2 separate regions of the Homo sapiens genome follow, and region 1 is linked to region 2. Evidence: promoter capture Hi-C in human tissues and cell types (Jung and others, 2019). All regions are on one chromosome and are shown on one strand. The core of a region is centred on a gene start or on the middle of the fragment in contact, and the rest is flanking DNA. Distances in the headings are between cores, read along the strand shown. Region 1 has its middle 81 kb from the start of YWHAZ. Region 2 holds the start of ZNF706 (zinc finger protein 706).

What was found. The method cuts DNA at HindIII sites, captures the fragments that hold promoters and counts their contacts. A contact is called where the count stands out against the background at its distance.
Region 1: a contact is called between a fragment that was not itself captured here and the fragment with the promoter of ZNF706 in region 2, in 2 of the 25 tissues and cell types used here (dorsolateral prefrontal cortex and hippocampus).

Annotation. Positions count from the first base shown.
Region 1 is chr8:100,868,354-100,873,022 of GRCh38, forward strand. No RefSeq gene overlaps it. Among named protein-coding and RNA genes, the nearest start is that of YWHAZ, 81 kb to the right of the region's middle. RefSeq lists an enhancer at 332-1,531. The HindIII fragment of the contact is 4,224 bases long and covers 1-3,987 here.
Region 2 is chr8:101,202,328-101,206,960 of GRCh38, forward strand. ZNF706 (zinc finger protein 706) reads right to left here and starts at 3,346. Exons shown (of 4, transcript NM_016096.5): 1 at 3,108-3,346. RefSeq lists silencers at 2,881-3,480, 3,691-3,910. The HindIII fragment of the contact is 7,281 bases long and covers 1-4,633 here.

The DNA of each region.
Region 1 (4,669 bases), core at 626-3,125, 340 kb before region 2:
AGCCTGGAGAATTCATGCCTCACTGTCTATGGGGGTGAGTATGGACATGCAGGTATAGAAAGAGAAAATGCACCATCTGGAACCATTGAGAAGCAGGAGGAAAAGTTACAGCCGCAAGCACCACAACCGTCTGTGAACAGATACAATTTTGTGTTTCATCTGGAGTGTGAGTCATTTCCCACTTTCTTCTCCTCATCCTCCCTAAAGTCCAAGTCAACCAAGGAGGAGCTCCAGATGGCTCACCCACAATTAGGTCTTCTTTGATTGTTCTAGGAGGATTAATTAGTCACCACCATGAGTATAAAGACCAAATCAAGAGGCAATATGGCAGAGGGAGAGAGAGGGAGGGAGAGACCTGCCTGCTGCTGAGGCGAGCACAGAAGGGCCTGTGGATTACACAGATGGTGTGTCATTCAAACTCTCTTTTGGAGAATGCCAACGTAGGGATGGGCCAGGTGTGTTAAACAGTCCTATTCAATGATTCATAGTCCTGGCTACACCCTAGAATCACCTGGGGAACTTTAAAAAATACTGATGCCCAGGCCCTGCCCTGAGATTCTGGTATAAGTGGTGCATTGGAGCCTGGGGATGAATATTTCCTTTTTAAAAGCTCCCTGGCTGGATCAATGTGCACTTAGTGAAGAACAATGTTGCAGTGCTTGCAATTTATTTGAACTGCGGTCAGTTTATTGCATTTCCCAAAGTATTTGTCATCTATCTGCCCAGTCCTGTGTTTGGCACTACAGAGAAAACAAAGCAATGGAAACCAGAAATAGCAAAGGATGTGGAGGAGTCCAAAGGTTTGGGTTCAAAGTCCAAGTCTGCCATTTTCCTGCTGTGTGACTTTGGGGAAGCCAAGTCCTTGAGGGGGTGGCATGATTGTGAGGTTGAAAGAGAACAGGACTAGGGCCAAGGGCTCTAATCCTTCCACCTTTGCGGTTAACTCGTGGTGTCACTTCAAAGCCAGTCACACCACCTCTCTAGACTTCTGTTTTTCTGTGGATAAAAGGAAAGAATGAGACTAGGTCAGTGGTTTCCAGATTTGGGTTTGAGAGACAGAACCTTCATGGTGCAGGTGTTTCTTGGTTGAAGGGTGGGAGGGCAATGAGACCCATCTTAGGGACTCCTGCTTCTCCTTCCAGGAAATCCCTGCTGTTACTCGAGGGGAACTATTTGAAACCCATTGGACTAGAAGATGTGCTCCCAGGCCCCTTGCTGTGAAGTCCTGTGGTCTTGTCTCTCACTTGCTCTGGACAAACACCCTGAGCAGTACTTTCTGCACTTAGGTACTTATGAATACTTTCACATGATGAGCGGGAATGGGTCCTGGAGCTTGTCCACTGGGCACATTTTCCTTCTAAGTGCATTGCTACTTCCTCCTCCCTGACTTCCTCTTGCATCCTATTATTGATTAGTTCGACTTGGCAAGTTTGTCGTAATTTCCAATTCTCTCTGCCAAGTTCCTCATTCCTTGAAGGATGAGCTGGCTTTGAAGACAATGATGCATATGTTCACTGTGGATTCTAGAAAAGGGGGGACTTCCCAGAATATGTGTTTCTGTGATTTCCATGACACTTCTCTACCAAGGGCCGTGGGCCGCCTCCCTCAGCTCTGATCTGGGAGAGCAATATCTATTCCTATAGTCAAGCTTGCTCCAGACTGCATTAAAGAAGGAGGAGACAGGGTGTTTCCTAATCGATGATGCCCCTATTAAAATTGTATATGTTGCAAGCTGTTACAGGGCCTGAATCAGAACCAGGAGACTATGGCCACAGGGGGCCATCAGAGTTGTTTTCAACCCCTCCGTGCCAGTTTAAGTCTTCTGCGAAGCAGATACCAAAATGGGATTAGATGTTCCAGAGACATATGGAGGGAAGTGCCCATCAAGGATGCAGGGGAGGAATTGGGAGGAGGCAGGGAGAGGCTTCTGGCCGCAGTGCAGATCTGACATCTGTGAATGGTGATTAGGAAGGGGAGTATAGGACAGGAAGAATCTCAGAATTCAGGGCCATTCTGAGGGAGCCTCCGCAGACAACTAGGAATCCCCAGGCAAAGGCTGCCCACCTCGAACAGAAACACCCAGCTCGCAGTCTCTGTCCTGTCAGTTGTGGCTGGGAGCAGCCCTGGGGGAGCATCATCTCGGTGTGAACGTGCATGGTGGGACAAAGGCACACAGCTGGAGGCTGGCAGAAGGTTGGAGGGGAGCACCTCCTTCCCCGCCACACCTCTGCTCTCAGTTCAGCTGGTGTAGATTTCACCAGGTGGCCCCAAAGAAATCACAGCACCCTTGTCTTGGCTGATACAGCCTCTGCTGGAAGGTGGCCCACTGGCTGGCTCTGTGTAACTGGAGATGGCAGTGTCCTAGGGGACAGTATTTGAAGACCTGGAAGCACTCAATCTCTTTGGAATATCCACCTTCACTAGACCTGCTATCGGACATGTAAGCCACTTCACAAGTTAAGGCCCTTTTGCAGACACAAGGATAGTAGCCTTCACATTAAAGAGCACGCTTCAGCTGAAGTCCATCAAAAATCAATTGGACCATGCTAGCAGCTCTGGAAGAAGCCTGGGAGGGTCTAAATTTCTCCCACTGACAGATGGGAAAATTGAGGCTCAGAGAGGCTGAAGTGACTGACCCTGAGTCACAGACTCAGTAGATGATGGAGGGAGAGAGAGAGATTAAGAGCCAAGGTCTGACCTCCCTCATTCACTCAACACGAGCATGTGGTACTTCAGTTTTCAAGCATTGAGGATGCAGCTGTGTCTGTTGACAGACAAAATCCCTGCCTTCAGGAAGCTTACACGGCTGTTGGGGGAGAGAAGTGATAAATGTATAAACATAATAATTTCAGATCGTGGCAAGTGCAATGAAGAAAACGAGATAGAGCAATAGGACAGGAGAGGGAGAGGAAGAGGAAGAGAAAAAAGCCCCCAAGAGTGGTCAGGGGAGGCTTCTCTGGGATGTGGATTTGATCTGAGTCATGAGTGAGGAGAACGTGCAAGCCCCTGAAAGATCTGGGAGCAAGGCCGGGCTTGGTGGCTCATGCCTCTAATGCCAGCACTTTGGGAGGCCGAAGCAGGAAGATCACTTGAGCTCAAGAGTTTGAGACCAGCCTGGGCAGCATGGTGAGACCCCATCTCTTCAAAAAAATACAAAAACTAGCCAGGTGTGGTGGCACATGCCTGTAGTCCCAGCTTCTCAGGAGGCTGAAGGGGGAGCCCAGGAGGTTGAGGCTGCAGTGAGCTGGTGAGCTGAGATCAACGCCACTGCACTCCAGCCTGGGCAACAGAGAGACCCTGTCTCAAAAAAAAAAAAAAAAAAAAAAAAAGAAAGAAAGAAAAAAAAGACCTGAGAGCAGAGCAGGGTGGATGGGAAGGACCAAGGCCCTGTGGCAGGAATGGGCTGAGCTTAGGGCTCAAGCCGGAGGGTGGACACCCCTGAGAACAGGGCCAGGAAACTGGTTGGAGAATTGCAGGGGTTTTGTAGGTCCTCTAGTGAGTTTGGATTTTTATTCTGATTTCTATGGAAGCCAATCCATGAGAAGGGCTGGAATGGCATTGAGAGGTTAATGAGATGGGGAATGAACTCCTGGAGGGACGAAGCCCACCAGCTGTCATGTCACAGTCTCCATGAGCTTCTGCACTGGGGGCAGGAACCCATCTTCTAGAGCTGCTTTCAGAGACAAAGATGGTCCTAAACCCACATGGTGAGGCAGGTGGGTGGCTTCGACCTGGGGACTCATTCCTGCAGAAAGGAGAGCAGGGAGGAGCACTGCCACTGCCTCCTTCCTCCCCTCCCCAACCCCCACCCCCAGCCCCCTTCTCCAGAGCGCTCACCCTCAGAATCTTGGTTCCTAACCTTGGCTCCATGGGGATCATTTGGGGAGCTTCATCTCTTTTTATTTATTTATGTATTTATTTTGGGACAGGGTCCCGCTCTGTCACCCAGGCTGGGGTGCAGTGGCAAGATCTCAGCTCACTACAACCTCCACCTCACGGGTTCAAGTGATTCTCCACAAAGGAAATTGCGGTTTTTGTAATTACTTTTAATTGCAAAAGTAGGTGATTCCGATGCATGCCAAAGTTTGAGGACCACTGTTCTAAATAAACTTTGAACAGACATTTAGTAATATTGGTTTGAAAGGTCAGCAATCATTAGCCTCCTTGGGATGCCCATGTGTCTTCCCACTTGAGGCATGTTATGTCCATCCATGAATAATGACTTCCTGGGCACTTACTTGAGTTCCTGGTGCTATTCTAACTGCTTCGCATGTATTATCTTTCATAACAATCCTATGAGGTAGGAACCATTATTGTTGCTACTATTATTCCCATCCCTAGCCAGGATTCAAGCCCAGGCAGTCTGGCACTAGAGCCTGGCACATAATCTTGCCCTTCTAGTTGGCACAAAATCTCAGTGACCGTTTAGCTCATTGGCTGGCACAGTGTCGAGTAAATGCTCATTAATTCCGAATATGAACAGATATGGGTTGGGAAGGAGAATTCTTAGGGCATGGAATTTGCAGGGAATAGGGAGTGTCAGGGGTGGGGTGGGAGGCCGCAGGGGAAAGGAAAGAAGAGAAGAGAGAGCCAGGAGGCACTGTGGGTTTAGCAGGTGCCTGCAAGAGGACCCTGCAAGAAGGAAAGAGGGGAAGTCACTCATTGCCAA
Region 2 (4,633 bases), core at 2,096-4,595:
GGCACCTGTAATTCCAGCTACTTGGGAGGCTGAGGTGGAGAATTGCTTGAATCCGGGAGGCAGAGGTTGCAGTGACGCGTGATGGCACCACTGCACTGCAGCCTGGGCGACAGTGAGACTCTGGTCTCAAAAATAAATAAACAAACACACAAACAAAAAATTGTTACAAGTAACAACTTGGTTGTATCTCAATGTTAAAGGAAAGAAGCCAGTTGTGGGGAATATACATTATTTAAAGTTCAAAACAGGCAAAGCTAATCTATAGTGAAAGGGGTCACCTTGGGGGTTATGGGTAATGACTGGGAAGACAGGACATGAAGGGGACTTATGGGGTCCTGAAAATGTTCTTGAATCAAGTGTGTTTACTTATAAAAATTCATTGAATTGTACACTCAAGATTTATGCACTTTACTGTATGTAATCTTCACAAGTTTACTAAAAAAGTTTAGCCCCCGCTATCATTTACTTGATCACTCTGCAAAAGTAATTTCCCTTCCCAGTATTCATTGTGACTTGCGATTGTGATTTTTATAACTTTAAGAGAAATAAAAGCTGTCTGTTACTCCTTCTAAAGGAGACCTCAGAAATAGGTGGAAACTGTTTTCTTACTTAGTTTTCATAAAACTACTGTTATTAATTTTTTTAAAAAGTTGGTCTTGCTGGATTGCTGAACAAATTATAAAATGAGATTATCAGCAAGCCACTAATTCCAGAAGTTTCTTTGCTCTCTAGACGTTAGTTCCCATTTGAGGGAATGAACTTGGTTAAGAGGGTTCTTTTACAAAGCTGAAAGATACCACTTTTTGTTACCGATGATCTGACGTGAACCCAAATGGATTAAAACAAAAAAAAAAATCAAGTCACTGAAAAAAGTTACTTTTACTTTTCCATTTAAATTAAAGGCTTTTATTCGACCACACAAGTTAAACCTGCTCATAAAGTCTATCATGAGTCTCAATTGCTTTTTAAATATATCAAAATTGGATCCTAAGTAGAATTCATATATATATAGTTTTGACTAGTACTGTAACTGAATGTAAATCATTGCAGGACAGGAACATACAATGGATTTGTATCAACTTCACCAGGGAAGGGTGCTAGCTTCTTCTGACTAGGACCATAATTAGTTAATGGATATGAGGTCAAAGCATTTCATAAAAATTACTGAGCTCCTCCTGTTCCCCAAAAAAGGAAACTAAAAAAATACACTGATTGGAGAAGTTCCCACTAGCATTAAAAAAATGAACTGAAAGTCAGATAAAATATAAAAGAGGGTCAATGCTTTTCAGGATAGTCAGCTGACTATTTCAACTGAGGAAATATGGGGTTTTTATATTAGGGTAGCACACGAGCCTAATACATTTTCGTAATTGAAAATGTTTAGCGTGCTAGCCTAATATGAGAACCCCATTCCCACCAAACAATGGTAAATATTACCAGCTGTTATCAGTCCTTGAAGACTAAGCTTCCATTTTTGCTTTAAAAAAAATTATTAATTCTAAGCCAAATGGCACATTTTTTTTAAAAGTGTATTTAAGTCCGATGTTACCGCAAGCTTACAAACCTATTCCCATGGAAACAGGTTTGGATACTTATGTATTATTTGGACGACAGTAGTCACGTGATCAGCCTTTATGTATACCAATGTTTTGCAAGGTTTTTTGTCTCAATGTCTTACTATCAGGACCTTGTAACAAAATAGCCAGTCTTCTCACACATCTTAACTCTTCGACACAATGTATTTTATGTATCTTAATACACTGATTTTGTGGGAAATCTTGTTTTATGTTAAAAAAAATCTTCAAAAATGGTAAGCCACTAATTTCAGAAGTTCCTTTGCTTTCTAGAAGTTACTAGCTATTTTGATATTTCCATGTTGTGACTCGTACAAAGCAATGTCATTAGACACACAAAATTATTTTTAACTTTTGCACTTAGGACTTTCCCTAAAATATAACATTACACAATAGATTCAACCCATTTTCCATTGTCACCAAACAGCAACCAAAAAGACCGAAGAGACTTAATAAAGACAGTAGTCACTTGTTCTTATTCTGAAGACAGAAAACTTAACACCAGGTAAAGGAAATGGAATAAAATAAGCTAAATGCATGAGGTAGGCCCCTAACTTCTGACAACACGCCCCATCGATTTCCTTTCTGAAAGCAGAAATTCAAACGAACCAACCACCTGCTTTTGGACAGCTCAACTTAGGACTTGCTCTCAAGCCAACACAATTTTCTACAAAATCGTAGGCAGCTACAACCGCTCCTTGATTAAATGCGACAAACTGGAGGGAAAAAGTCACTTACAAATACCTACATGCTGGTTTTTAATGCAACTCTCAGTGTGGTTTTCCGAGGGGGCTGCAAAGAGGGAAGTAGTGGAAGAAACGAGTTCTAAAATGAGGCGCTCTCGTAGGAGGCAACAAGTAAGCTCTGCCCCAAAGCTCCTTTTAAAACCAACATAAATGAGTAACAGAAGAAAAGGATTTTGGGTCCAGGAAGTAGGCTCATTCTCCATAACCATCGGAAAGGAAGAGGCCCAGGCAGCGCTCCACATCCTGACCCTAGCTTTTAACACCATCGTTTTGGGGAGAGGAGAGGAGGAACGCACCCACAGTGAGGTCTCCACCCAACACTTCTCCGACCCCAGCTTCAGCCTGGCGCACCTTCCTTCCCAAACCCGCCTCTCCCGCCTCGGAGACCCCCTCCTCCTCCCTGCCACCAAAGGCCACGCAGCCCCCATCTAGCCAGTCCTCACGGACCCTGGACCAAGACGCGCCTCCTGGAGGCCGAGACTGCCCGAAACCCGGCCCCTGCGTCCACCGGGAGCGCCACACTCTGGCAGCTGACCGGCGGCTGTCGCCGGGGGTAAGGTTACCGCTCCGCTTCCGCGGCTGGCCTGCGACCCGGCCACCTGCAGGGCCTGGCAGGCGCCCGAACTCATCCCCTTCCCGCGGCCCGCCCCGGGCCGGGCCCTGCCGCCCCCCGCGACCCCTCGCGACCCGCGGCGAGTCCCACGGTCCCCACCGCCCCCCGCTGGCCGGCCCCCGCCCCGTTTCCCGGGCGTCCCGCGGCGTCAGCACCGCCCCCGCTGCCGCTCACCCGGGCCGGGACAGTCTTGCGTCGGAGAGACAGTGCAGCGCGAGAGGGCCGGGAGAGGACGCCGGAGGGAAAGGAAGGGGGAGCGCGCCCAGCACCGCTTGGGCCTCCTCCACCCGCTCAGGAGGGGAAACACGAGAGCCGGGAGCACAACAGCCTCGCACGCCCGCCGCCGCCGCGCGCCCGCCGCCGCCTCAGCCTTAGGGGAGACCACTACGCCTCGTGCCCGCGCACGCCGCGCCGCTCTCCTCGGCGCCCCCGCCCCGCCTGCTCCTCGCAGCCCCGCCCATGTGCCTTTCTGCGGCTGCCTCCTTCTGGCCCCCACCCCGCTCGCACGCCTGCGCCCTGGCTGGTCGCGCGGGCCAATGGCAGCGCGCCCCTATTACATAAGCGCGAGGGGGCGGGCCCTGGCTGACACAAACTTCAGGGGACGTCGCCTTCTGTCCCCAGGCGCCCCTCCTCTCCGGCGCGCTCGGTCCGGGCGGCTTCTTCACCCAGCCCTGGGAGCCACGTGATCCCGGTCCTGGTTGGTGACCGGGCCGCGGCGTGTTTCACAAGTCGCTCGCTCGCTCATCCACTCGGGCGGCGGCCGGGCCTCAGGCGCTGCGACCCTTTTCCCGCTCCTCCCAGGCTGACGCGCCCGTCTCGGCGCCGCCCTCCTCGGCACCGACTGAGGCGCTGGCCCGGGAGCGGATCGCGGGGCCGCGGTGGCTGAGTCACATTCCCGGAGCCCCGCCACCCAGGACACCGCGGCCCCGGCCCCCAGCGAGCCCGGCGGACCCAGCGGCTCTGAACGCGGACGCACAGCCTTTGTTCTTTCACAGCCGCCCTTTACCTCACTCCCATGGAAACCCCAGGTGTTTTCCCAAGCTGGGGGCTTTTAGTGAGTTCAAGATTCAAGCCTAAGTCGTATTAAAAATTGCTGGCTAGGCCGGGCGCGGTGGCTCACGCCTGTAATCTCAGCGCTTTGGGAGCCCAAGGCAGGAGGATCACTTGAGCCCAGGAGTTCCAGACCAGCCTGAGTACATAGCGAGACCCACGTCTCCACAAAAATAAAATAAAATAAAATAAATAGTGGAGCATGGTGGCCCGCGCCTGTAGTCCCAGCTACTCGGGAGGCTGAGGTGGGAGAATCGCTTGAGGCCGGGAGGTGAAGGTTGCGGTAAGCCGAGATCGCGCCATTGCACTCCATCCTGGGCGACTGAGTGAGACCCTGCCTAAAAAAAAAAAAAAACAAAAAAAGAAAAAAAAATTGCTGGCCAGGCTTCCCGGAGGGGTTTAGTTTGACTGCTAACAATATACGGTACTGAGTTGCTAATCCTTCGGGGAATGGTTAAAGTTCTTTGCGCGCGCTCTCTCTCCATTTACAGGCAGTGGCAGCAAACTTTCAATATCTGACAAGAGCAATGGCGATTATAACCATGATTAAAATTGCTGAATATCTGGAAACAGTACTTTAGACATCAGCTTTATTGTGCATACTTACCCCCGACCCCCGCCACATTCGTTTCTAATTAGAACTACTAGTG